Regions from separate parts of the Homo sapiens genome. Here regions 1 and 2 are each linked to region 3. Evidence: promoter capture Hi-C in 16 types of primary human blood cells and fetal thymus (Javierre and others, 2016). All regions are on one chromosome and are shown on one strand. Each heading gives the region's core, a stretch centred on a gene start or on the middle of the fragment in contact. The rest is flanking DNA. Distances are from core to core; before and after follow the strand shown.

Evidence for each region. The method cuts DNA at HindIII sites, captures the fragments that hold promoters and counts their contacts. A CHiCAGO score of 5 or more calls a contact.
Region 1: a contact is called between a fragment that was not itself captured here and the fragment with the promoter of PRKCQ in region 3, in 1 of 17 cell types (non-activated CD4 T cells). The highest score is 5.4, in non-activated CD4 T cells.
Region 2: a contact is called between a fragment that was not itself captured here and the fragment with the promoter of PRKCQ in region 3, in 1 of 17 cell types (non-activated CD4 T cells). The highest score is 6.1, in non-activated CD4 T cells.

The regions. Positions count from the first base shown.
Region 1 is chr10:6,045,897-6,050,677 of GRCh38, reverse strand. The region is part of intron 1 of IL2RA (interleukin 2 receptor subunit alpha); the gene reads left to right. Among named protein-coding and RNA genes, the nearest start is that of IL2RA-AS1, 13 kb to the right of the region's middle. RefSeq lists an enhancer at 1-53. The HindIII fragment of the contact is 9,510 bases long and covers 1-4,781 here.
Region 2 is chr10:6,026,558-6,031,340 of GRCh38, reverse strand. The region is part of intron 1 of IL2RA (interleukin 2 receptor subunit alpha); the gene reads left to right. Among named protein-coding and RNA genes, the nearest start is that of IL2RA-AS1, 6.5 kb to the left of the region's middle. The HindIII fragment of the contact is 3,660 bases long and covers 749-4,408 here.
Region 3 is chr10:6,577,768-6,582,310 of GRCh38, reverse strand. PRKCQ (protein kinase C theta) reads left to right here and starts at 2,035. Exons shown (of 18, transcript NM_006257.5): 1 at 2,035-2,100. PRKCQ-AS1 (PRKCQ antisense RNA 1) reads right to left here and starts at 1,886. Exons shown (of 2, transcript NR_036503.1): 1 at 1,384-1,886. RefSeq lists silencers at 1,624-1,773, 1,784-2,033. The HindIII fragment of the contact is 7,587 bases long and covers 280-4,543 here.

The DNA.
Region 1 (4,781 bases), core at 733-3,232, 530 kb after region 3:
AGCACTATTCCCCCACCCCAACCACCTTTTTTTTGAGACAGAGTCTCACTCTGTTGCCCAGACTGGAGTGCAGTGGTATGATCTCGGCTCACTGCAACCTCTGCCTCCCGGGTTCAAGAGATTCTCATGCCTCAGCCTCCCCAGTAGCTGGGATTACAGGCATGCCCCATCGCCATGCCTGACTAATTTTTGTATTTTTAGTAGAGACAGGTTAGTAGAGACCATGTTGGCCAGGCTGGTCTCAAACTCCTGACCTCAATTGATCCACCAGTCTCAGCCTCCCAAAGTGCTGGGATTACAGGCTTGAGCCACCACGCCCTGCCACCATTCCCATTTTACGGATGAGGAAACTGAGACCATGAGGCAGTAATTCACTCTCCCAAGAAAGCAAGGAGCCAGTAGATCTGAGCAGAACCCATGCATTCAGGCCGACACAGGAAGCAAGCTGTCAACAGGCACTGTTCATCTCCTGGGCTGCCTAGGCAGGCCCTGAAGCTCTGGTTTTCAGTCACCCTGTTATTCATCCCCAAGTTAATCTCCCCTGAAAGCACCTGTCGTGATGCCCTTTCGGCTGCAAGAGCTCCAGTCATTTCCATTGCCTCAGGGGCACTTTGCTACCTCCTCTGCCTGGCACACAACATGCTCCCCAGCCAAGACTGTTCCCTCAGCACATAGCACGCCTTGGCCAGCAGGTCTCCTCCTGTCCTTCAAAGGGAACCTCCTCATTTGTGATTTCAAAGCTGGACTCCCAGGAACACCCTCCTCCCTTACTGGAACAATCTTCCCCATCTTGTCTGCCTACCGGAATTTTTCCCAACCAGAAAAGCGTCTTGAGAGAATGGAAAAGTCTTATGAATTTGGAAAGTTGACAGCTTGAATTCAAATCCTAGCTTGAACTTGTGAATTTCTACTTTCCTTTACGAAAACCTTTGCATGCCATTCTGTGCAGGCACTAGCAAGGTGGTGGGAGGGAGATGGATACAGTAGGGTGAGTGCCGTGTAAAGAAAAGGGAGCAAAGTCTGGGACTGCAGAGAAATGCCACAAAGCACAGACAGAAGAGTCCCGGAGGCTTCCCAGAGAAAGATGACAGCCAATGGGAGACCTCCAGGGAAAGCAGGAGTTAAGAAGGTAGAAATGCATTAGGGAAGTGTGGCATGAGCATGATGGTCAATTTCAATGTGTCCACTTGCCTGGGCTAAGGGATGCCCAGATAGCTGGCTAAACAGTCTCTCTGGGGGTGTCTGTGAGGGTATTTCCAGGAGACACTAGCATTTGAATTGAATAGACTGGGTAAATTTCTTGTTGGTAGACTGAGTAAAGAAAATCACCCTCACCAGTGTGGTGGGGATCATCCAACCATAGAGGACCAGAATAGAACAAGAAGGCAGAGGAAGGTTGCATTCTCTCTGTTCAAGCTGGGACATCCGTCGTCTGCTCTTGGACATTTGCACTCCTGGTTCTCCAGCTTTTGGACTCTGGGACTTACAGCAGGGCCCCTCTGCTCCTCAGGCCTTCAGTCTTAGACTGAGCCACACCACCAGCTTTCCTAGTTATCCAGCTCCAGCTGGCATATTGTGGGACTTCTCAGCCTCCATAATTGAGTGAGCCAACTCCCATTATAAATATTCTCTTATTTATCTACATACATCCTATTGGTTTTGTTTCTCTAGAGAAATTCTGTTTCCCTGAATAATACAATGACCAAGGCCCAAGACAAAACACATGGTGAGCTCCAAGAGCCACGCAGAGTCCCGCAAGGCAGGAGAGCTCAGGCACATAGTGGAAGCAGAGATTTTGAAGTTGGGCATGAGCTGTGTCTTGGAGTCTCCCCATGTCACTGGGCTTAAACTGTGTCCTGGAAGGAACAGAACATCCCAGAGGGGTCTCAGTCAGGGCATGGCTTGTACTTTGGAGAGACAGCATTGGGTTTATGTGAAGAATGAAGGAAGAAGAGAAAGCACTGGGTTTATGTGAAGAATGAAGGGAAGCAGAAAGGCAAACCCATAGGGCATTGAGTAACCTCCATGGAAGTCCATGAGGGTAGGGTTTTAACCTCGGTGGGCCTCAGCTTCTGTTCGTATAAAATGGGAATAACACAGACCCTGCTGGGTGCTGTAAGGCTACATAAGCTAGCCTGCCTAGAGTGACCAGAGCACACAGTAGGTGCTCACTAAATGTGACTTGCTGGGCTTCTAGTCTGCATGGCCAAAGGCCCTTCCCTCGGACCTTTCCGTGTGGATGCCTCACAGGCTGCTCAGTCTACACATCCAGAACTGTCCTCCCTCCCTGGAACCTACTCTTTCTCCTCTCTTTGCTATCTCAATGAATGGCACCCCATCCTCCCCATCGCCCAGGAAATCTGGGCAAAATCCTCATTTCTTCCTTGCTGTCCTCCATGCACCTAATAATCCAGCCTCAATTTTTGGCAATTCCAACTTCTAAAATCTCTTAACGCCAGCAACCCCTCTTCTTGCTTACTTATCACCACCCACCTCAGGACTCCCATGACAGCCTTCCTGTGATGCATGACGGGCACATGACAAGGGCAGTTGAGGGTCAGGGGCCACGGGAGCAGGATGCAGCCAGCACATGAGGGAGGATAGGCGGGAGGACAGGCAGACACTTGTGCGTAAGAGCACGCACTTGTCAGGCTGCCTGGGTCCAAGTCCTAGCTCCACCACTGAGGGGCTGTGTGTCTCTGGGCAAGTCACTGGGCCTCTCTGTGCCTTAGTTCCTGCCTCTAGAGAACGGAGATGAGAAGAACACATCACCTCATAATTAATTACTGCATAAGTAATAATTTTAATTATATTGACTATTATACTCTATTAGTGTATGATGTCTTTTATTATATATATTTATCATATAATATACTAATTATATTAATGAGTATACTATAGTATTTTATATAACATACCCTAATTGCTTATTATATATCTGTATAATTATTTTATCATATAAGATAATTTCATAAGCTAAGATGGTATTTTATATATTTCATTTATTATATATTTATATTTATATACTTTATTGTATTTGAATTGTGATGTCTAATAAAATAATAGATACGTTAATTATCCTTCATATTCATAATAAGCTCCTTCATTGGTGTCTGGGAAGCCGAGAACATTTGTGCGTGTGAGCTCTCCTGTGTGTTCGGCATGCAGTGTGTTGCGTCTCAGCTGACGTGATTGCTGTTTTTGGTGGCCCGGAGGCACAGGGTGCATGCTACAGGCAGGAAGAGCTTTGGAGCAGGCTGACTCCTGAGCTCTCCTCTGGTGCCGTGGCTTCTGAGGCCCCCAGGTGACAACCAGCCTTTGCCATTCTAGTGTTTCCTCTATGTTCATCCCGCGTTCTGAGTGTGGCACAGGCCACACTCCTGACCCCACCAGCATCAGGTGCTGTGCACATGGTATGAGGTCGGGATGGAGTGCTGTTGGCATGGGGGTTGTTCCTTGGGCTACCTGTGTCCACATGGTCTGATTAACCCCTTCTGCACATCAGCAAGGGTTCAGCACCTCCTCAGGGTTAGGGCATGCGCAGGGCATGCAGGGATTTGAGGGTCCTTGGACAATGCATGTTCTCCATGCAAGCATGCAGAGACATGGAGAGGGTCTTTGTCCCTTTCAGTCCTAACATTCTGTGGCTTCATAACTACTTGTCCCACACCCGAGTAAAAAGCAGGATCTTCTCAGCACTGTGCTGAGGAAGTCTTTAAACCTTCCAGTAGGACATGGGATCCCTGCCTGCATCTTAAGTTCCCATGTCCTTAGGAAACGTGGCCACCTTGGAATTCAGCTCTCCAAGAAGCCCAGTGTGAATGCCCATTGCAGGAGCATCTGAGCTCACCCCCACTAACCCTGAGGTATCTGTTGAAAAGAATAGAACCCACCCACTGAAACTATCAGAGATCAAATGTTGTGTGTTGACTAAGAATTTGTGTTAAGGCAGGGATAGTTGAGCACCAATGCTTTCAAGGAACTCTGGAGAAATGCAAGCCTGTATTTCCTCTCAGCATGGCTGCAGAAGAGGGCCAGGGCAGCAGACAGGCATTTTGACCCACTCACAGATGAATACAAAGACTAAACTCAGCAAAAGCCTTGAGGTTGCATTTATGTGTCTGAGAACAGTCCCTGGAGCACAGGCATGGGCTTTTGGTACCACGTAACCTACAACCGTAAGCTCTCTGCTCTATGCTGTCCACTCCATCAATCCCACAGTGCCTGAAATGTCATTGTCTTACCCGATGTCTGGGGTAGCATCTGTGAACACACGGATTTGACACTTTTATGATGCTGTTTGTCTCTACTGAACCCTTCTTAAGCAAAATCACAGTAGACTAGCAGATCATGGTAGTATCTGAAAGCGCCAGGACCCCAGAACCTCAATCAGTGCTCCCCACTTCCCATGGTTTTCTCCCTGTGTTTCCACATTTGGATTGTCATTGTCTGTGAAAAGGCATGATCCCTGTCAACAACACACAGTGTATGCAATGTGTGTCTTGTGTAAAACGGAGTGTGAATTCTTGAGAGCAGGAAGGAAAAGGGGTACAAGAGGTTCCCCTGCGAGATGGGTGAGGAGCAGGGCAGAGTGAGCCTGGCTGCTGGGAACCCCTGAGGAGAGCTCTGGAGAGGGTTCTGGACACGTGGGCTTGGTCAGCCTGACAATTAGGATTTGTGTTAACAGGACCGGCCCTCACCTGACACCAACTGGACTGAGGTTCCCAGGAGAAACTCTTAGCATCATGACTTTGGAGGTTGCCATCATTTTTGATGACTTT
Region 2 (4,783 bases), core at 1,329-3,828, 550 kb after region 3:
AATCTACTTCCTGATATTAATATAACCATACCAGCTTCCTTATGCTTATCTTTGTAGATTATATCTTTTTCTATCCTGTTTTCTCAACCCATCATTTTTATTGTATTTAAAGTGTGTTCTCTTGAAGACAGCATATAGTTGGGCCCTGCTGTTTAATCCAGTCTGAAAGTTTCTATCTCTTAAAGTATGGATTTTTGTCCATTTATATTTAATGTAATTACTGATAGGGTTGGCTTCAAGTCTACCTTCTTGCTATCTGTTTCTTAGCTGTTCCTTTTCTATTTTTATTACTCTATTCTTCCTTTTCTCTCTTCAGTTTGGCTAACCAAACAAATTTAATATTCTTTTTAGCTACACTCTTTGTGGTATTATTTGGTGGTTTCTCTAGGCTATTCAGCATGAATCCTTAACTTATCACTATCTACTTACTTAATATTGTACCATTTTCTATATGATATAAAAACCTAAAACAGTACAATTCCATTCTCCCTAACTTTTATACTAGGACTGCTGTATATTTTACATTTACATGTTCAACAGAACCCACCATACCATATTATTATTTTTGTTTTAAACAGTTGTCTTTCAAAGATGTTAAAAACAAAAAGTGGCCTTTTCACTTATCTAAATATTTACGTGTTCTTTATTACTTCATGTCGATTTATGTTTCTAGCTAGTGTAATTTCTCTTTTGCTTGAAAATTTTTCTTTAGTGTAATGCAGATGTGCCATAATAAATTCTCTAAGCTTTCTTTTATCTGAAAATATACTAAATTCACCCTCATTTTTAGAGGATATTGTCTCTAGGTAGATTTCAAGGTTGACGGGTTTTTTTCTTTTAAAACTTTGAATATGTTGTGCCATTATTTTCTGCTTCTATTGTTTCTGTTGAGAAGTCAGTTGTTATTCATCATCGTTCCGCTGTAGGTACGTGTCCTTTCCCTCTGGCCACTTTTAAGATTTTCTCATTATCTTTGGTTTTCAGCAGTTTAGCTACGATGTATATAGATGGGCTTTTCTTTATACGTATCTTGCTTGGTGCCGTGAACATCTGGATCTGTAAATCAGTATCTGTCATCAAATTTCAAAAATTTTTGGCCATTATTTCTTCATATATTTTTTCTGCTCCATTCTTTCTCTTCTCTATCATTGGGAATTCAATTAAATGTAGGTTAGGCTATTTAATATTGTCTTACAGCATGCCAAAGGTCCATTCTTTTTCAGATTTCTTGTGTTCATCAGTTTGGATAATTTCTATTGATTTGCCTTCAAGCCCCGGCTAGGCTCATTTCAGATATTGTAACTTTTAGTTTTAATTTTTTATGTTTAAAAATATTGGCTGGGCACGGTGGCTCACACCTGTAATCCCAGCACTTTGGGAGGCCAAGGCAGGTGGATCATCTGAGGTCAGGAATTCGAGACCAGCCTGGTCAACATGGTGAAACCCCATCTCTACTAAAAATACAAAAATTAGCCATGTATGATGGCATGTGCCCGTAATCCAAGCTATTTGGGAGGCTGAGGCAGAAGAATCACTTGAATCTGGGAGGCAGAGGTTTCAGTGAGCCAAGATTGTGCCACTGCACTCCAGCCTGGGCAACAGAGCAAGACTCCATCTCAAAAAAAAAAATTACAAGTTTTCATTTATCTACTGAGATATCCTGTTGTTTCACTCATTATAACCATTTTTTCTTTAAATTAGCAGTTGGCAATTTTTTTTCTGAAAGGGCCAGAGAGTAAATATTTTAGGCTACCTGGCGATGTTACTCCACTGCAACTACTCAACTCTGCCATTATAGCAGAAAAGCAGCCATAGACAAAATGTAAATAAATGGGTGTGTCTTTCTTCCAATAAAACTTTATTTATAAAAATAAACCACTGAACACAGTGTCTCACTCCTGTAATCCTAGCACTTTGGGAGGCCGAGGCAGGTGGATCACCTGAGGTCAGGAGTTCGAGACCAGCCTGGCAAACGTGGTGAAACCTCATCTCTACTAAAAACACAAAAAGTAGCCAGACGTGTTGGCGCACACCTATAATCCCAGCTACTTGGGAGGCTGAGGCAGGAGAATCGCTTGAACCCGGGGGGCAGAGGTTGCAGTGAGTCAAGATTGCACCATTGCACTCCAGCCTGGGCAACAAGAGCGAAACTCTGTCTCAAAAATAAATAAATAAATAAATAAATAAATAAATAAATAAATAAATAAATAAAATAAATGGCAGCAAATCTGCAGGTCATAGTTTACTGACCTCTGCTTTAAGTCATTGAGTGTAATTACAACTGTTTTAAATTCCTTTTGTGCTAATTCCAAAATCTAGGTCATTTTAGGGGTCTTTTTTTTTTTTTTTTGAGACAGACTCTCACTCACTCTGTAACCCAGGCTGGGGTGCTCGGCTGACTGCAACCTCCACCTCCCAGGCTCAAGCAATTCTCCTGCCTCAGCCTCCCAAGTACCTGGGACTACAGACATGCGCTGCCACACTCGGCTGATCTTTTGTATTTTTAGTATAGATGGGATGTCACCATGCTGGCCAGGCTGGTCTGGAACTCCTGACCTCAGATGATCCGCCTGCCTTGTCGCCCCAAAGTGCTGGGATTACAGGCATGAGCCACCACACCCAATTTTACGGGTCTGTTTCTATTGAGCACTTTTTTGAGTAGGTCAAGTATGTCACATTTTCCTGTTTCTTCACATGTCTAGATTTTCTTTTAATTTGCTGGATATTATGAGCTATACATTATAAAGGGTCTAGATTATCTTATGGTCCTTTAAAAGGTAATGCATTTTGCTCTGCCAGGCAGTTAAATGACTAGCGCATCCTCTTGTCTATTAGGCTTGGTTTTAATCTTTGTAAGGGCAGGTCTATTTTGGTTTTGAAATTCATCCTAGGGATGCCTCTTTCTCTAAAGCAGGATTGGAAAACTACAACCCACAGCTCAGACACCTGTTTTTATAAATAAAACTTAGCATAACTCTTCTTCTCTCAGCCCTCACAATGGACAATCAGGGCTAAGTTTCACTGAGTTCTGCCCTGTTCAGGTTCAGACCAGCTCTTGGCTAAGAACCTGAGGTGGACCCCTATACATAATTTTGGGGCGACCTTCATGCAGTGTCCTCTCCAGAGCCCCACCCCACAAATCCCAGTCATGTCACGTCAATGAAACCACTCTGCTTGGGTTCCACCTGGGTGCTGCCGGGAAGGAAAGCACCCCAGGAAGGAAGCCAGGGCAACTGTGGGCGCCTCTCACGTGTTTCCCTCCTCCAAAATCATGTAGCCCTGAGCTGCCTGTTGTTCAGCACCTGAAAGCACTTGCTGTATACATTTGGACTGGTTTTACAGCTGTTTCAGCAGAAACGTAAGTTTTGGTCCCAGTTACTCTGTGATGGCTGGAAGCAGAAGTCTTCACTGGTTTTTCTGATTATTATCCATGTCTTGCTTTAGTAACAGATTTATCTTCTGATACTTAAAATATTGGTTGGTGTTGATCCATAATAAGTGCCAACAAATGGTACCAGTGATATGAGAAGTACAGAGAGACAAACTTTTGCAGGAGTTAAAGGTTAAGGTAAACTTCAGTCCAGTCTCTATCTGAATTACCATTCTCTTCTTCTGGACAGTGAGAAAAAGGAAAGGAACAGAACTACCATCTATTCCATACCTGTTATTTTCCAGGCTTTCTTCAAGTTACCTTAGTATATTATTTGCTATAATCATTAAATCAATAAAATAATAATTATTACAGCACGAAGCTGAGCCTTAGAGAAGTAAAATAATAAAACTATGTAGCTTGTAAGCTGCTGGAGCTAGAAGTTAGAAACCCATCTTTCTCCTTCCCACCATGCTGCTGCTCTTGCCTTATCATGAGATTACCAGCATTTATTGAGCACTTATGTTGCCTGTTCCACTGTAATTTCTGGCCCATGGAGCCCATTTAAATTGCTTTTGCTTAGTCCCTTGTTGGTTAGAGATGGGCCAAGCTGTCTGATTTCTCCCTATCTTCGTTTTTTTTTTTGAGACAGAGTCTTGCTGGGTTTCCCAGGCTGGAGTGCAGTGGCGTGATCTCGGCCCACTGCAACCTCTGCCTCCTGGGTTCAAGTGATTCTCCTGCCTCAGCCTCCCAAGTAACTGGGACCACAGGCACATGCCACCACGCCCGGCTAATTTTTTTGTATTTTTAGTAGAGACTGTGGTTTTCACCATGCTGGCCAGGCTGGTTTTGAACTGCTGACCTCATGTGATCTACCCGCCTTGGCCTCCCAAAGTGCTGGAATTACAGGCATGAGCCATTGCACCCAGCCTCCCTACCTTCAGTTCTTAGGGGAGACAGGAGAGTCCTGAGCCATTGGATGGGGATGGTCTTCCGGAGGACAAGGTGCTGGGCAGAGTCTAAGGGCACAGAGAAGCTTCACTTAACCTGAATGACCAATACACAACCGGCCAACCCACAGCCATAAGTACAGCCAGCAGCCCTGATCAGCCTCCGTGTGGGCTTCCATTGACGGAGAGGCCACAGACTCCTGCTTTCCTGCCTCTTCCTGTCCCTGTCATCTCCCCGTCCACTTCCTTTATCCAGCATGTGATATTTCCCCCCAAAATCTAATCTCTTAGAGCAGAGAACTTGTTGCAAAGTAGGCAATGGAATTATTTTTCTGATTAGACCTGTGCCACTTTTCCTTTTAATAGTTTGATGTTTGACCACTGCTTCTGGTGCCTTTAGTGAGATACCAGAGTCCATTTTTCAGGCTGAGGGAGGCTAAGGTCTTCATAATATAAGAAGGTA
Region 3 (4,543 bases), core at 786-3,285:
AACTTTTTCTAAAGCCACTAACTACTGATTAAATTAACAGGACATATGAGCTTCCTTTCAGTGCCTAATTGTCAATGAGAAACCCAGATATGGAGCGTGAGGAATCTACCATCTTCTAGGCACAGTAGCTGTTATCCGTTTGCCATTTCTTCTTTGCACTGTAACAGGATCCGCTGAAAAACAATTGGAGAAAGAGCCAGATGGATGGCAGTCTGAACTAGGGAAGCTTCTGTTTTGTAGTTTGCAGAAAGAATCTGCATGGGGATCACTGCTTAAGCTTTGCCTCTTTGTTTCCAGACACAGACGCACTTTCCTGCCTAATTTCCATAGCAAATACCCAATGAGCGCCTACTGTATGCCAGGTTCTGATGATGTCAGAGTGAGCCAGCACTTCCGAGGTACTGGCCACTCTCAAACCTCCTGGCTAGGATCTTCCAAGAGCTACAGCCTCTGGCCTGAGGGTCAGTCCAATGCTGTTAGATATTGACAAATGCGGGGCTAATTTTAATGGAATATAGTTTTATCCTTAAAAGGTGTGTGTGTTTTGGCTTTATTTGGGTTCATATAGATTAGGGGCATCATCATAACTCGCTTCCTAGTGCAGACCTGAGTGATTTAATCAAGTCTTGAAACACTTCGGGGCCTCAGTTTTTCATCTGCCTTCCCAACCTCTGAGGTTCTTTTTAGTTGACATCCTACATTCCCATGATCAGAAGGCTGCTAATTCAACTTTTGGCTTTTGTTAAACCTTTTTTTTTTTTGAGGCAGAGTTTTGCTGTCACCCAGACTGCAGTGCAGTGGTGAGATCTCAGCTCACTGCAACCTCCTCCTCCCAGGTTCAAACGATTCTCCTGCCTCAGCCTTCTGAGTAGCTGGGATTACTGGCACGTGCCACAACACCCAGCTAATTTTTGTATTTTTAGGAGAGACACGATTTTGCCATGTTGGCCAGGCTGGTCTCAAACTCCCAGCCTCAAGCGATCCACCCGCCTCAGCCTCCCAAAGTGCTGGCATTACAGGCATGAGCCACCGCACCTGGCCTGTTTTGTTTTGTTTTAATCGTTTTTAATGTCTCTCTCAAAACAAGAAAAGAAAAAAGGACAAAAAATTACTATTTTACTTCTCAGATTAATCTGATCTTAGTACACTACAGCAACAAAAGTCTTAATCAAGTACGTTTTAATTATTTGGTGTCATCATTGCAAGGAAACCATTCAGTAAGAATATTAGTAACCAGACATATAATTTTCTAACCTGAATGAGAAATTAGTTACATGGAGTATAGAAAAAGAAACCACCCCGTTTATCCTCCCTGTGACCATCATTAGTATTACCCGCAAGGCATAAAAAGTCCTAAAATGACACGCACGGCGGCAACATTACCTTTGCAGCTTCAAGCACAGTAAAGTTGAAAGCAGTCCCACCTTGGCAATTGTGTATAAAACGACAATGTGCAGATACAGGAAAAGTCCCAGGTCCGAAGCCACCTAGGAACGATGACCCCAGGACAGAAGTGTGCCCAAACAAATGCCTGGGGTAGGTCATTTTAAAAGGAACAATGTTTACAAGCCCTTTCTAGCGTGAAAAACAGAGAAAAGAGACCCAGCTCTTTCCACCCAATCTGCTGGAGCGCCGTTTCGTTTTCAGTTGGGCGAGAGGGAGACATGTGGCCTCTCGCCCCTTTTCCTGACTCTGAGAATGTGGCCGGAGCCGGGGCGCTCCTGCTCCGCCTCGCCGCCCTCCCGGGGCTGTCCTGGGCCCTCCGGCCGCCGCCTCCCGCTCCAGTTCGCAGCTGGGCGACAAGTGGCTGGTAAGGAGGCCAGGGGCGGGAGCCTGGGCGCGGGACCGGGGGCGCACGGCGGGGGACCGAGCGCGCGTCCCTGGCTAGAGGTGCCGGGTCCCGGGAGGCCGGGCTGGCGGGGAGGCTGGCGAGCGCCCCCTGGCGGGCACCGCCTTCTAGGCGCACCCGCAGTGCGCCGGGCCCGCCAGCCCCGCCAGCCCCGCCAGCCCCGCCAGCCCCGCCAGTCCCCGCGCAGTCCCCGCGCAGTCCCCGCGCAGTCCCAGCGCCACCGGGCAGCAGCGGCGCCGTGCTCGCTCCAGGTAGGGCCCCGCGCCCCGCGCCGCCGCCGGGAGGGAGCGGGCTGGAGGGGCCGAGACCCGTGGCGAGAAGGGCTACCCGGGCCCCTCGGAGAGCCTCCGGGAAGGGGTGAGGGCTGCCGGGTGAGCAGGCGGAGTAGGAAATGGAACCAAGCGGGCGCAAGAGCGCACCGGGAAGAATTTCCCCGCTGGGTTTCTGGGACGCAGGTCGCACGGGATGCGGGATGCTGGCGACCTTAGCCGGGTGGGGGCCGCCGGCCTGGGGGCGCTTCCTCCTTTCTTCTCCCTTTTCCTTCTCACCTGAACGAAAGGGGGCCTGCGGGGAGGGAAGAAGGTGGAAAGTTTTTGTATTCTTGGTAAAAAAAAAAAAAAAAAATGCGTGAGGAAACATGTTTTCTGGAGATGGTATCCTGTCCACAGGGGAGCATAACCCCTTTTCTGGGAATGTATTGGAGCACGGACGGGGGTGCCATTGCTCAGGCTTCTAAACAAGCCAAGTTTCTGGTCAAGGGCCTGGGGGAGGGGGAGGCAGGTCTTTGAAAGATACCAAAAAAAAAAAAAAAAGAAAAATCTGCGTGCTCATTCCTGTAGCCTCAAGTGAGGTTATTCCCCAGCTTTGAGGGCCAGGTTAACCAAGCAAAGTTTGTGCAATAAAGTATCTTTGTGGTATTGGATTTTCGAGAGCCACCGTTATCAATGGGAGAGTGACTGTTGAATGCTACAGGCGTGTGCACTCCCCCGTGGGCATGAAGAGAGGTCCACGGGCTGGCTGGATTGGGAGACTCCGGTCATTTCTGCAAGGAGAGCGCCACAGGACTGCCTTGTTCCCTGGGCTGTCCTGCCCCTGTGCGGGCTGGACGTGGTGCTATAAAAGATGATTCAGGAGTGGCACAGGCTGAGGGGGACTAGGCTGGAGAAGGTGGAGGGAAGAGGGAGCACTCCGTGCCCTCTTCCTGTCCATGGGAAATGAACCATCTGTGCCTGGTGTCCAAGTCCTTGACGTTCCAGTTGCCCTTTGAGAGCACACCTCAAGCCTGCTGAATTCTTTTAAGAACCACCTACAAGATCTGAGAAGTCCGCCCATGCTTTCTGTCAACTCCGGCCTCTTTGACCTTTTCTTTTGCCAAAGAAAATTCTAAACCACTGGGATTCGTGAGGCTCCGTGAGAGAGGCAAGAAGCCTGGAGGGTCCACTCCGTTGCTCTTTTCCCTTGGTTTGCTCCCTAGAAGCCATGGTCCCCACTGGGCCCTTCTTGCCCGAGGCTGTGTGATAGACAAGCCCTATTCCTAAGGTCCTGGGTCCCCCACCCCACCCCACACCCCGACCTTGTGAATCATCATCTTCATATTTTCCCTAACTTATCTTTGGTAACCCTTGTAAAATGGCAGGCTTACTGCGGATGCTTAATCTCTTTTAAAAGTGCTGTGTCTAGCGGGAAGAAGAGTGACATTTACTAATATGGTTGCAAATTACTTTTGAAGTTTATGCACAGCTGTTTAAAATCCCTCTGAGATCAGTGCCATTGTTTGATGCAGGTGCTTACCGCAGAAGGCTCTTGTTAGTCCCTTCCTCCTGCTGATTGAACATACATATATTTAAAGACGTGGCGTAGGGAGAGCTTCTAAAACCTGCAAAGCCAAAGCTGCACAGCTCCTGCAAGTTAGCGATCCACTCTAAGTTTTTCAGTTGTTGTTTCTGTCTTCTTGCCTCTCATGAACTTCTGTTTCTGATTTCAAGAGTAACCTGCTGGGCACCATCAGCCTTTGTTTCAGTGACCTGCGATTTTCTTCTACACTTTAAAAATGTCAATATCCAGGCAAGACTCTTGTCACCCACCATCCGCGTTGTCATGTTCATTTCCGCTACTGTCTTGTGCTGTGGTGCCTCGGGATGGCAACTGTTACTTGAGGAGCTAACTTCTACCTCTGTTCTCCTACAGACATGTCCTCATTGCGTCTTCGCTCACCATACACGGTGCAGCTCCTGGAAATTTGATTTGTTTTGCTGTCTCACTTCTCCTTCAGGCAACAAGGGGATGGTGTTCGATTATTCACACCTCAGCTCCTTCTGTAATCTCAAAGATCCCTTTCAACAATAATACTCTCTGTCTCTTGTTAACGCCAGGCATCAGAAGCCCCCTTACATAGCCGGCTTGTCACTGGTCATTTCTATAAAGTATTCTCATTCTAACACATGCTGTCTCTTCCGTGGAAAAGACTAAATTCTTCTCTGCAATGAATTAGATGTTTTAACCAAAATTCCATGTGGACTGGGTCCAGAATTTTCTTTCAAGAGTATGGGCTTGTGGTACAAGTATGTAACTTCGGGGATTCAGAAGTAGACCTACACAGACAAATCTCCTTATAACGTGTTATTTAATTATGGTATATTTGCCTTTCTGGAAATTAGGAATTAGAGTTAGTACTTCCTGTTTTTAATGCATTTG